Linked DNA regions of Homo sapiens: regions 1, 3 and 4 are each linked to region 2. Evidence: promoter capture Hi-C in human tissues and cell types (Jung and others, 2019). All regions are on one chromosome and are shown on one strand. The core of a region is centred on a gene start or on the middle of the fragment in contact, and the rest is flanking DNA. Distances in the headings are between cores, read along the strand shown. Region 1 overlaps KIFAP3 (kinesin associated protein 3). Region 2 holds the start of PRRX1 (paired related homeobox 1). Region 3 has its middle 25 kb from the start of NTMT2. Region 4 overlaps KIFAP3 (kinesin associated protein 3).

What was found. Contacts are between HindIII fragments. The study calls those that stand out against the background at their distance.
Region 1: a fragment that was not itself captured here is called in contact with the fragment with the promoter of PRRX1 in region 2 in 2 of the 25 tissues and cell types used here (aorta and mesenchymal stem cells).
Region 3: a fragment that was not itself captured here is called in contact with the fragment with the promoter of PRRX1 in region 2 in 3 of the 25 tissues and cell types used here (bladder, heart right ventricle and liver).
Region 4: a fragment that was not itself captured here is called in contact with the fragment with the promoter of PRRX1 in region 2 in 2 of the 25 tissues and cell types used here (IMR-90 fibroblasts and mesendoderm cells).

Annotation. Positions count from the first base shown.
Region 1 is chr1:170,049,488-170,052,258 of GRCh38, reverse strand. All of the region lies in intron 2 of KIFAP3 (kinesin associated protein 3), which reads left to right. Among named protein-coding and RNA genes, the nearest start is that of KIFAP3, 24 kb to the left of the region's middle. The HindIII fragment of the contact is 4,078 bases long and covers 1-2,771 here.
Region 2 is chr1:170,662,817-170,665,709 of GRCh38, reverse strand. PRRX1 (paired related homeobox 1) reads right to left here and starts at 1,579. Exons shown (of 4, transcript NM_022716.4): 1 at 1,251-1,579. The coding sequence starts at 1,491. RefSeq lists enhancers at 86-946, 2,147-2,674. The HindIII fragment of the contact is 17,405 bases long and covers 1-2,893 here.
Region 3 is chr1:170,120,062-170,122,761 of GRCh38, reverse strand. No RefSeq gene overlaps it. Among named protein-coding and RNA genes, the nearest start is that of NTMT2, 25 kb to the left of the region's middle. The HindIII fragment of the contact is 6,375 bases long and covers 1-2,700 here.
Region 4 is chr1:169,947,941-169,950,708 of GRCh38, reverse strand. All of the region lies in intron 19 of KIFAP3 (kinesin associated protein 3), which reads left to right. Among named protein-coding and RNA genes, the nearest start is that of SCYL3, 55 kb to the right of the region's middle. The HindIII fragment of the contact is 6,764 bases long and covers 1-2,768 here.

The sequences.
Region 1 (2,771 bases), core at 122-2,621, 610 kb after region 2:
GTCCTGGAATTTATTCATTTCTTATAGATTTTCTGGTTTATTTGCTTCGAGGTGTTTGTAGTATTCTCTGATGGTAGTTTGTATTTCTGTGGGATCAGTGGTGGTATCCCCTTTATTATATTTTATTGTGTCAATTTGATTTTTCTGTCTTCTTTATTAATCTAGCTAGCAGTCTATTTTGTTAATTTTTTTGAAAAAACAGCTCCTAGATTCATTGATTTTTGGAAGAGTTTTTTGTGTCTTTATCTCCTTCATTTCTGCTCTGATCTTAGTTATTTCTTGTCTTCTGCTGGCTCTTGACTTTGTTTGCTCTTGCTTCTCTAGTTCTTTTAATTTTGATGTTAGGGTGTCAGTTTCAGATCTTTCCACCTTTCTGATGTGGGCATTTAGTGCTATAAATTTCCCTCTACACACTGCTTAAGCTGTGTCCCAGAGATTCTGGTATGTTGTCTCTTTGTTCTCATTGGTTTCAAAGAACTTCTTTACTTCTGCCTTAATTTTTTTATTTACCCAGCAGTCATTCAGGACCAGGTTGTTCAGTTTCCATGTAGTTATGTGGTTTTGAGTGAGTTTCTTAGTCCTGAGTTCTAATTTGATTGCACTGTGGTCTGAGAGACTGTTTGTTATGATTTCCATTCTTCTGCATTTGCTGAGGATTGTTTTACTCCCAATTATGTGGTCGATTTTAGAATAAGTGCCATGTGGCACTTAGAAAAATGTATATTCTGTTTATTTGGAGTAGAGAGTTCTGTGGATGTCTATTAGGTACACTTGATCCAGAGCTGAGTTCAAGTCCTGAATATCCTTGTTAATTTTCTGTCTCATTGATCTGCCTAATATTGACAGTGGGGTATTAAAGTCTCCCACTATTATTGTGTGGGAATCTAAGTCTCTTTGTAGTGTAGGTCTCTAAGAACTTGTTTTGTGAATCTGGGTGGTCCTGTATTGGGTGCATATATATTTAGGAGAGTTAGGTCTTTTTGTTGCATTGAACCCTTTACCATTATGTAATGCCCTTCTTTGTCTTTTTTGATCTTTGTTGGTTTAAAGTCTGTTTTATCAGAGACTAGAATTGCAATCCCTGCTTTTTTTTTTTTTTCCATTTGCTTGGTAAATATTCCTCCATTCCTTTATTTTGAGCCTGTGTCTTTGCATGTGAGATAGGTCTCCTGAATACAGCACACCAATGGGTCTTGACTCTTTATCCAATTTGCCAGTCTGTGTCTTTCAATTGAGGCATTTAGCCCATTCACATTTAAGGTTAATATTGTTATATGTGAATTTGATCCTGTCATCATGCTGGTAGCTGGTTATTTTGCACATTAGTTGATGTAGTTTCTTCAGTGTCATTGGTCGTTATATTTTGGTGTGTTTTTGCAGTGGCTGGTACTGGGTTTTCCTTTCCATATTTAATGCTTCCTTCAGGAGCTCTTTTAAGGCAGGCTTGGTTGTGACAGAATCCCTCAGCATTTGCTTGTCTGGAAAGGTTTTTATCTCTCCTTTGCTTATGAAGCTTAGTTTGGCTGGATATTAAATTCTGTGTTGAAAATTATTTTCCTTAAAATTGTTGAATATTGGTCCCCACTCTCTTCTGGCTTGTAGAATTTCTGCAGAGAGATCCGCTGTTAGTCTGACGGGCTTCCCTTTGTAGTTGACCTGACCTTTCTCTCTGGCTGCTCTTAACATTTTTTCCTTTGTTTCAACCTTGGAGAATCTGATGATTATGTGTCTTGGGATTTATCTTCTCGAGGAGTATCTTAGTGGTGTTCTCTGTATTTCCTGAATTTGAATGTTGGCCTGTCTTGCTAGGCTGGGGAGGCTCTCCTGGATAATATCCTGAAGTGTGTTTTCCAACTTGGTTCCATTCTCCCTGTCACTTTCAGGTACACCAGTCAATCATAGGTTTGATCTTTTCACATAGTCCCATATTTCTTGGAGGCTTTGTTTGTTCCTTTTCATTCTTTTTTCTCTAATCTTGTCTTCACGCCTTATTTCAGCAAGGTGATCTTCAATCTCTAATCTTTATTCTGCTTGATCGATTTGGCTATTGATACTTGTGTATGTGCTTCACGAAGTTTTCATGCTGTGTTTTTCAGCTCCATCAAGTCATTTATGTTTCTCTCTAAACTGGTTATTCTAGTTATCAGTTCCTGTAACCTTTTATCAAGGTTCTTAGCTTCCTTGCATTGGGTTAGAACATGCTCCTTTAACTCAGAGGAGTTTGTTATTACCCACCTTCTGATGCCTACTTCTGGCATTTCGTCAATCTCATTCTCCATCCAGTTTTGTGCCCTTGCTGGAGAGGACTTGCGATCATTTGGAGGAGAAGAGGTATTCTGGGTTTTGGGATTTTCAGCATTTTTGCGCTGGTTTTTTTCTCATTTTCATGGATTTATCCTTTGATCTTTGAGGCTGATGACCCTTGTATGGGTTTTTTTTGGGGGGGGGTGGTGTTTTTTGTTGATGTTGTTGTTGTTGCTCTCTGTGTGTTAGTTTTTGTATCAACAGCCAGGCACCTCTTCTGCAGGTCTGCTGCAGTGTGCTGCAATTCCACTCCAGACCCCGTCCTCCTGGGTATTACCAGTGGAAGCTGCTGAACAGCAAAGATTACTGCCTGCTCCTTCCCCTGGAAGCTTCGTCCCAGAGGGAGCACTGGCCTGATGCCAGCCAGAGATCTCCTTTATGAGGTGTCTATCAACCCCTGTTGGGAGGTCTCTCCCAGTCAGGAGGCATGGGGGTCAGGGACCCACTTGAGGAGGCAGTCTATCCCT
Region 2 (2,893 bases), core at 330-2,829:
GGGGCCACCACTGTGCCCGGACCCTGTTTCCAATTGTTTCTATGTGCAGTTTGATTTGTATGTCTATTCTTTGAGAGTCTGAAATAGGCAACGTTTTGTGAAAATCATAGAATGCTGGAGGGCCCCCCGGTTCCACGATTTCCAAATTTGAAGACAAAAATGGTAACCAGCAACTACTGACATAGAAAGCAACCAGCCTCATTTGAGAACTTACAGCTAAGTTCAGACTCTTGCAACCTCGAGGAGAAGAGGGAGTATCTGTACATATCTGGCCACATGTCACCTGGGATGAACAGGGTGACCGGTCTGTTACAGACTTGGGGGCATGGGGATACAATTGCAGTCTCTTTTTAAGGCACTAGCGAAGCGAGATTTTCATGGGTCGCGAGGTTGGTCGGTGAGGATGGGGAAGGGAAACTGGACTTTTCTGGGCGTTTAAGAGCCAATAGGGAGAGCTCCTCTAAGGTGACACTGGCCTCCGCACTGAAGCTCGCGCCTCCCGGATGCAGCTCGCCTGTGCGGGATCATGCGGGGCTGGATTTCAGGTTTCACCCTTAAAGGACATTCCCTTTGCTTGGCCCGAGTTTTCCCAAGCCAGCCGGGCTTTTGACTCTGCCAGTCTCAAACCCATTTGCGGTAGAGGCAACAGCAGGGGGCAGAGAGCAGCTCCAGCGTCTGGGGCCGGGCGTTCTCTCGGGGCCTCCCGGTCGCGCCCGGCCTTACGGTGCCCGCGTGGAGAGTGCAGCCTGAGCAGCGCCAAGTCCTGCTCCCTGTGCCTGGTGCCCTCCCTCAAGCCGTCATACGCTGCCCGAGAGAAGCCCTTCCAACCCGACTCAGCATCTTTAACCTGCTGCTTTCCCAAACAGCGCTGGCTCTCTGAGTTTGCACCCCGCTAAGACCTTTTCCCAGCCCAGCCCCGCCGCCCCGCGTGCGGGATGAACCGAGCCGGTGCCTAGCCGAAGTAAAGAGAGTCCGCCGCGGACAGAGTCCCTGCCTGAGACCGCAGGGCCTCGGAGTGTCCCCGGACCTTGGAGCCTCTCTCCAGCGTCCTCCTTGGCTATGCCCTCGGCCGAGACCCGCTTTTCTCATCTGGTTTCCCCTGTGACTGGCCCTTCCTTTGAAGTCTGCCATCACCTCTCCTGGTCCCAGGACCTTGTCTTTCTGGCCGCGGACGGGCTCTAGCTGCCCTACACGGGTCCCCGCCCTCTGTCCCGGGCACACACCCCCGTGGGCATGCGCCCCTCACTCACTGTCCTGCTGCGGGGTGTCGCTGCCGCTGGTGAGTCCCGGCGACTCCAGCAGGCTCCGGCCAGCCTCGCCCACGTTCTCATCCGCCTGTGCCGCCACCATGTCCCCGGCTTCCTCCAGGTCTAGCAGGTGACTGACGGAGAAGTTCTTTTTCGCCTGCAGGGTGTCGAGGTTGCCCGGGCTGTCCAAGCGGCCGCCCAGCGCCGGTTGCCGCTCCAGAACGTGCCCGTAGCTGGAGGTCATGGTCTCCCCCACCGATCCCACCCACCCCCCTCTTCCCGCTCGAATCAACACCAAACGCTGTGGGCGCGAGGGGGGAGAGGAGCCGAGTGGGGAAGAAAGAGGGGGGTAGTGGAGAGAGAGAGAGAGAGAGGGAGGAAGAGGGAGGGAAGGAGAGGAAGGCCAAAAAAAAAAAATTGGAAAAGAGGGTGGGGGACCCCCTTCTGTAGAGCAGAGCGTTGTGCACCAGCCGCCTTCCGCAGCATTGGTTGATTTCCTGAGGCCAAGTCCGGCGCGGTCCAAAGAGATAATCCACAGTAAAATACAATATTAAAAAGTCACCCTATGTTCAAGTCAGGAGAAAAAAATCCCTTCCAACTCTCCAAAAGTGTCCACACGCACAGACTAAAAATAATAACAAGGGGGAGAGAGGAAAGCGGAGGCCAGCAGGGCGGGGGAGTTAGGCAAACAGAAGAAGAGAGAAGAAGGGGTGGGAGAGAAGAATCAAAGTGAATGGTTTTTTTAAAGGTTAAAAAAGTTATTCCCAGGCAAGAGTTCAAGCACCAACAGAAGAAGGCTTGTTCCAGCTTTAAAACATCTTCAAGAAAACGTGTTCCCCCCTCTCTGCACTCCTGTGGATTCTCAGGAGTGACTAAAGTTTCAGGAGGAGAGGGTGATGTCTTGCAGATGTATTAGAGAGCAGGATTCTCACTTTACTTTTTGTAAAGAGTAAAAAAAAAAATTAAGAATTAAAAAAAAAAGGCTTCAAGAGTCCGACGGAGGGTGCTGGTGGGTTCCCCCCTTTCCCCTTCTCTCTCTCCCCCTCTTCTTGCTGGGCTCCTTTTTCCTTCTCAGTTGGATCAAGAAGCTCTCTGGCACTTCAAAAGGCACAAACTGGCATGCAGAGGAGGCTTTGTAGGGAATACAAGAAAATTGGAGACCCCTGGGAGGGCAGATCTCGACTTAATAGGAGCCTGTAATTACGTGGCAAAGCCTTTGTGCTGTGCCTGACGTTTCACAGACCCCCTTTCTCCATCACAATCTCCTTCTTCCTCCTTTCCCTGGGACCAAAAAACAGTCTGATTAAGAAAACCCCCTTTGCCAACATCAGAGTTAGAGAGAAAGGGAGAGGGAGGGAACAAGAGAGAGGGAGGGAGAGAGGGAGGGAGGGAGGGAGGAAGGGAGAGAGAGAGAGAGAGAAAGAGAGAAGAGAAATGAGAGAGGGAAGAGAGCAAGAGAGCCCCTTTGGATTTCTAAAGGTCTAATTATCATTCCCCTGCAATAATATCACGGGGAGAAAAGACAAACTGAAACTCACAGTCACTTCAAACGTGCTGATTATTTTGCTTCGGCATTAACTCCTCCAGATTTGTTTAAGATCCTGTTGGAAAATCTCATTTGCATGTTTTGATAACAGCTGTGGGGA
Region 3 (2,700 bases), core at 89-2,588, 540 kb after region 2:
TTTTGAGACAAACCTAAAGCAATACAGCGTGCAATCCCTCATTTGTAATTCTGAATTACCGAAAGCTCTGAAAAACAATTTTTAGAAAATTTGACATGAAACCCTGACTCAATCTGATATGAGACAAACTATAGTCTTTATTAGCTTAATGTACGGATTGGTGCAAAAGTTATTGCGTTTTTGCCGTTACTTTGTAATTACTTTGTAATGGCAAAAACCGCAATAACTTTTGCACCAACCCAAGATATGACCAGAGTATTGGCACAGATACCATGGGAGATTTTTATAATATAGAGTTTATAAACCATATTGCCACTCTAAAATCTAAAATCAGTGAATTCTGAAACACATTTGACACCAAGGGTTTTGGATGATGGATTGTGATCCATGTAATGAATAATCTTAATTAAATACGTTGCTAAAAATGGTTGAAAAATAATGAACTAAACATTCTACATATAACAGCGGAAAATATAAAGATAAAAACAGAAATTAATATAATAAAAAACAAAGAAACAATAGAAAGAACCTAAAAATTAACAACTGATACTTTTAAAAGATTAATAAAACTGTCAAATTTCTGGAAATACTGATAAAGAAAAAACAGAAGTTGCAAATAGTATATCAAGAATAAAAAATGGGGCAAGACCACAGAGGCAATAGAGAATCTAAAATTTATATTTTGTGTCAATAATTTTGAAAACTTAGACAAAGGGACATATTAGAAAAATAAACACAAAAAATAAAGAAAAAACAGAAAACCTAAATATTCATTTTAACTGATCTTTTTTCTTGTCTTACCGGATAAATGAACAGATGTTTTGATAAGAGATATCCTGGTATTTTAAAAGGGAAAGCTTTTTAAGTGGTGCTGTTGGGATTCTCCAGAAAAACAGAATGAATAGATGTGTGTGTGTGTGTGTGTGTGTTTGTGTGTGTGTGTAAGTAAAAAGAGGTGATTTTAATGAATTGACTCACATGATTATGGAGACTGGCAAGTCCAAAATCTGGAAGGCAGGCCAGCAGGCTGGAGACCCAACGAAGAGCCAGTGCTACAGTTCAGTTCTGAAGGCTGTCGGCAGAACTCCCTCTTGGTCAGGTTGGTCTTTCATTCTATTCAGGCCTTTCACTGTTTGGACAAGGCTCACTCACATTACAGAGATAATCTGCTTTACTCAAGTCCACCAATTTAAATGTTAATCTCATCGAAAAACACTCTGACAGAAACCTCCAGAATAATGTTGGACCATCTATCTGGGCACCATGGCGCAGCCAAATTGACACATAAAATTAAGCATCACAGTTAACTGTGCAGGATTATGAAAGAGTGACATTATATAATGTATTTTATCAAGATGATTCTGGTTATTGATTGAAAATAGACTATATGGTGAGAATTGTAGACTCAGGGACACCAGAGAAGAGACTACTGCATTAATTCATATAAAAGAGAATGGAGGCTTGAACCATTTTTAGCATTTTTAGCAGTGGGGTAGTGAGAGTTCATTAGATTCCAGATATAGTTTGAAGGTAAAACTCGTGGGATTTCTTAACAGTGTGAATGTGGGATATTAAAAAAAAAGAAGAAGAAAGAAAAGAAAATAATCAAGAACAGTGTCAAGGCTCAGGGACCAAACCACTGGGAAAGCTGAATTTCCCTCAACTAACATAAAAAGCTGTTGGTAGAGCAGGTTTTGAGGAAACCTCAGGAGTTTAAGATGTCAGACATACAAATGGAGATGTTAAGTGAAATAAGCCAGGTACAGAAAGACAAATATCACATATTCTCACTTATCTGTGGGAGCTAAGAATTAAAATAATTGAACTCACAGAGATAGAGAGGAGAAGGATGGTTACCAGAGGCTGGGAAGGGTAGACAGAGTTGGGGTGGAAGGTTGCTGGGGAAGAGGCGATGGTTAATGGGTGCAAAAAATAGCCAGAAAGAATAAATAAGGCTGAGTATTTGCTAGCATAACAGGGTGACTATATTAAAAATTAATTTAATTGTTCAATTAAAAATAACTAAAAGAGTATAATTGGATTGTTGTAAACCAAAAGGATAAATGCTTAAGGTGATGGATACCCTATGTACCCTGATGTGATTATTACTCATTGCATACCTGCATCAAAATATCTCATGTAACTCATATATATGGTACATATGTGTGTGTGTGTGTGTGTGTGTATCTACTTTGTACTCACAAAAAATAAAAATTTGAAATTTTTTGAAAAAGAAGAGGAGATGTTGAGGAAGCAATTGGCTTCATAATTCTGGAGTTTAGAGGAAGCTTAGAGATATAAATTTAGGAGTTAGTAGCATACTAATGGAATTTAAATCCCCAAGACTGTTTGAAATTTAAAGAACTGAATTTAGATAGAGAAAAATAATCAAATAACCAAGGACCCTGATCACTCCAAAATTAAGAAGTCAAAATATCAATATTTTTCAGATTTGATAAATAATTTTAATAAAATTAAATTTTTATTGGAAATGCATTTTTTTTCTTTTAAGTTCAGGGGTACATGTGCATGTGTTTTATGGGTAAATTCATGTCACGGGAGTTTGTTGCACAGATGATTTCATCACTCAGACGTTAAGCCTAGTACCCATTCGTTATTTTTTCTGATCCTCTTCCTCCTCACACCCTCCATTCTGAGTTAGACCCCACTGTCTGTTGATGTCTTTTTGTGTCCTTGTGT
Region 4 (2,768 bases), core at 244-2,743, 710 kb after region 2:
ATGCAAGTTAATTAAAGAGAAGTTGTTGAACTCATTCTTCATCTCTACTGTAAAGATGAGAATAAGCAGACTTAATGGACAACATGAAGAATTTGTGTTAACTGTGAAAGAATAATAGCTGAATTGATCTTTACATATTGAAAAAGCTGATTCTCTAAATATCTTAAAAAGATTAAATTGTCTATTTGGAGTTGTTGGGTGTTTTTCCTTTAAATCAGGGAAATGGTCCAGATGATTTATAAATTCTTTCCCTGCTTCTTCTTCATATGTCTTTGATAAATAAACACTGTCAAGTTATCTGGAGAAAGAGTAATACTTGATTAATGTATAAAAGGTGAACTTTTATCATTACCATTGTTTTCAATGATTTAAGTATAACAATATGTGGGATAAAACACGAAACAATATGACAGTGCCAAGTGGCATACTCTTCAGCCAGTTCTCATGGCTTTTCATTCTCTGTTTTCTTAATGTTTCAGTTTGAGTGGATTCATGTAATAAATAACAAATTGCTAATTTGTATGACACAAGGGTTTTTTTAATTGTTTAAAGAAAAATTATTTATTTCTTCATAAAATGACAAGGTTCAGTAATAGGATGAATGTATTAAAATCTGAGAAACTAAGCCAGATTTAGAGAAGAATTTAAATAGTTGAAATTGGTATTTTTCTTAAAATCCAAGTCAGGGGGTCCTTCTTAATCTGAATACCTTCATTTTTGTAAGATAGCAATGCAGTTTAATTGGAAACAGTGAAAACTGTTAAACTCATCTATCCCATTCTATAAGAAGACTGGATGTTTGATAAAATAGATATTGGCAGTTGGACAGTGAATCCTGGGTTTTAGACATGTGTCACTATCAGTTTGAACCTCTTGGCGCCAGGATTTCCCAACATTTAGAGCTAATGCAAAATGCATTAGGGCTCTAAGGCAATAGCTATGGAGTTGCCAATCCCAGAGCGTCAAATGTAAATCTTCCCCTCCCAAAATCTGAACTGGTGTTAGAAAGTAAAGTGGAACTTGCTTTTGAAGCTAATTAAAAATAATAGGAGCAAGACTAGCTTTTTTCCAGTTATGTATACCATGTATCTGCACCATATTTTTGGACCATTTTTTTATTATAACTTTTACTTTTCAAGACTAACAAGAACCGCATGTTAAGGGTATTTTTAAACTGCTTCCAGCTTTTACAAATCAGTTTTTGTTGCAGTAAAAATGGTCCATTTTTCTTTTATAGGAATCCAATTTTCATAAACTGGAAAAAAAATTGCAGAGACTGCTTAGGTTTCCTTGGGGCTTTGAAAAATATTTTTCAGAGAGCCTGGAGTTCTTCTTTGTGGTTGGCACAGTGATGTCATTTACTGACCATTTCAGTGGGGTCAAAGACAAACTAGATGTATGCATTATCTGAGCCATCTGACTCTTAAACTTTCATTTTCTATGTGTGTGTTATAGCCTGCCTCTTTTTCTTTTCTTAGAGTACTTTAATATTAACTTTTTTATGCATTATATGTATTATATATTACATATACATATGCCTTCTATTTTGGTCTCTTTTTTTTCAAATATTAAATCACAGTTGGATATTAGTTGTACTTTTAAAAATCATACTGAGGAGAACTAAAAAATTATTTCTTTAAAATATAAGAAATAATCTTTTACCCAAATTTTTAAATGTATGATTTTTTAATTCTAGAATTCTACATATAAAAAAATTAGACTTATTTGTTTAGCTGTAAGGCTGCCTTAATTATACTCAGCTATTTAGTTTACTGTTTTTTTCCCTTGAGAAAGCAACCTCAAAATTACATATTCTCTGTCTAAAAGGCATTGTGCAGTGTTTACAGAACTACATATTACTAGAACTGTATATTATGAGTTTGTTTCAAAGCAGTTATTCAGAAGAGAAACTAAGTTGTCTATTTTACAGCCCTTAATTTGGCCAAGCAAAAAATTCTTTTATATTGAGAGGAAAGTAAATATGCCTGCAAAATTCCTTCTTTGATAAGTCCTTTATCAATTTTTAATTAATAACCCAAACTCATTTGTTCTAATAATTTAAGTTCAATGATCTTCATTACTGTGGCCATAGCATAGCAATTAGATGGAAGGATCAAAAAAGTGAAAAGAACCTCTCAGAAGCATTTTCTTTGATAGACATTGACACCAACCATTTGTTCAGCATTGTAAGAACTAACCTAATTGCTAAAAACCTATAAAATCTTTTTAAAATAATCATTGACTAAAATACTGCTTCATTTAGTGTGTTATTACTTTTTTTTACCAAAGATGATCATAGTTTTTCTATTATTTATGAATTTCATATTACTTTTTCTCAGCAGAAAACATGCTTCATGAAGCCTTTCAAAAAAACTGACTTAGCCATTTTTCTAGACATGGTGTTTACAAAATAAAGCAGACATAACATTTTCACCTATCAATTGCCAAATAATTTCTAGTGCTAATACCCACACATCAAAGCAAAACAGCACTCCTAAACACCTGTTGTAGAATTTAATAAAACCTTTATGAAAGGCATTTGGTAATAAAGAACAAGAGCCTTAGATTGTTTACTTCCTTTTACTCTATAACTTTATTTCTAAGAATTTGTCCATATGAAATAATCAGAGATAAACATAAAGACTGATAAATAAGTTATTATGTGTCAAAGAAAATTGATACATTGAGGGTAGTGGAATAAACATTTTTACAACGTTATTTTTGTGCCATGAGATTTTTGTCTACATACTAGATTATATTACACTGGT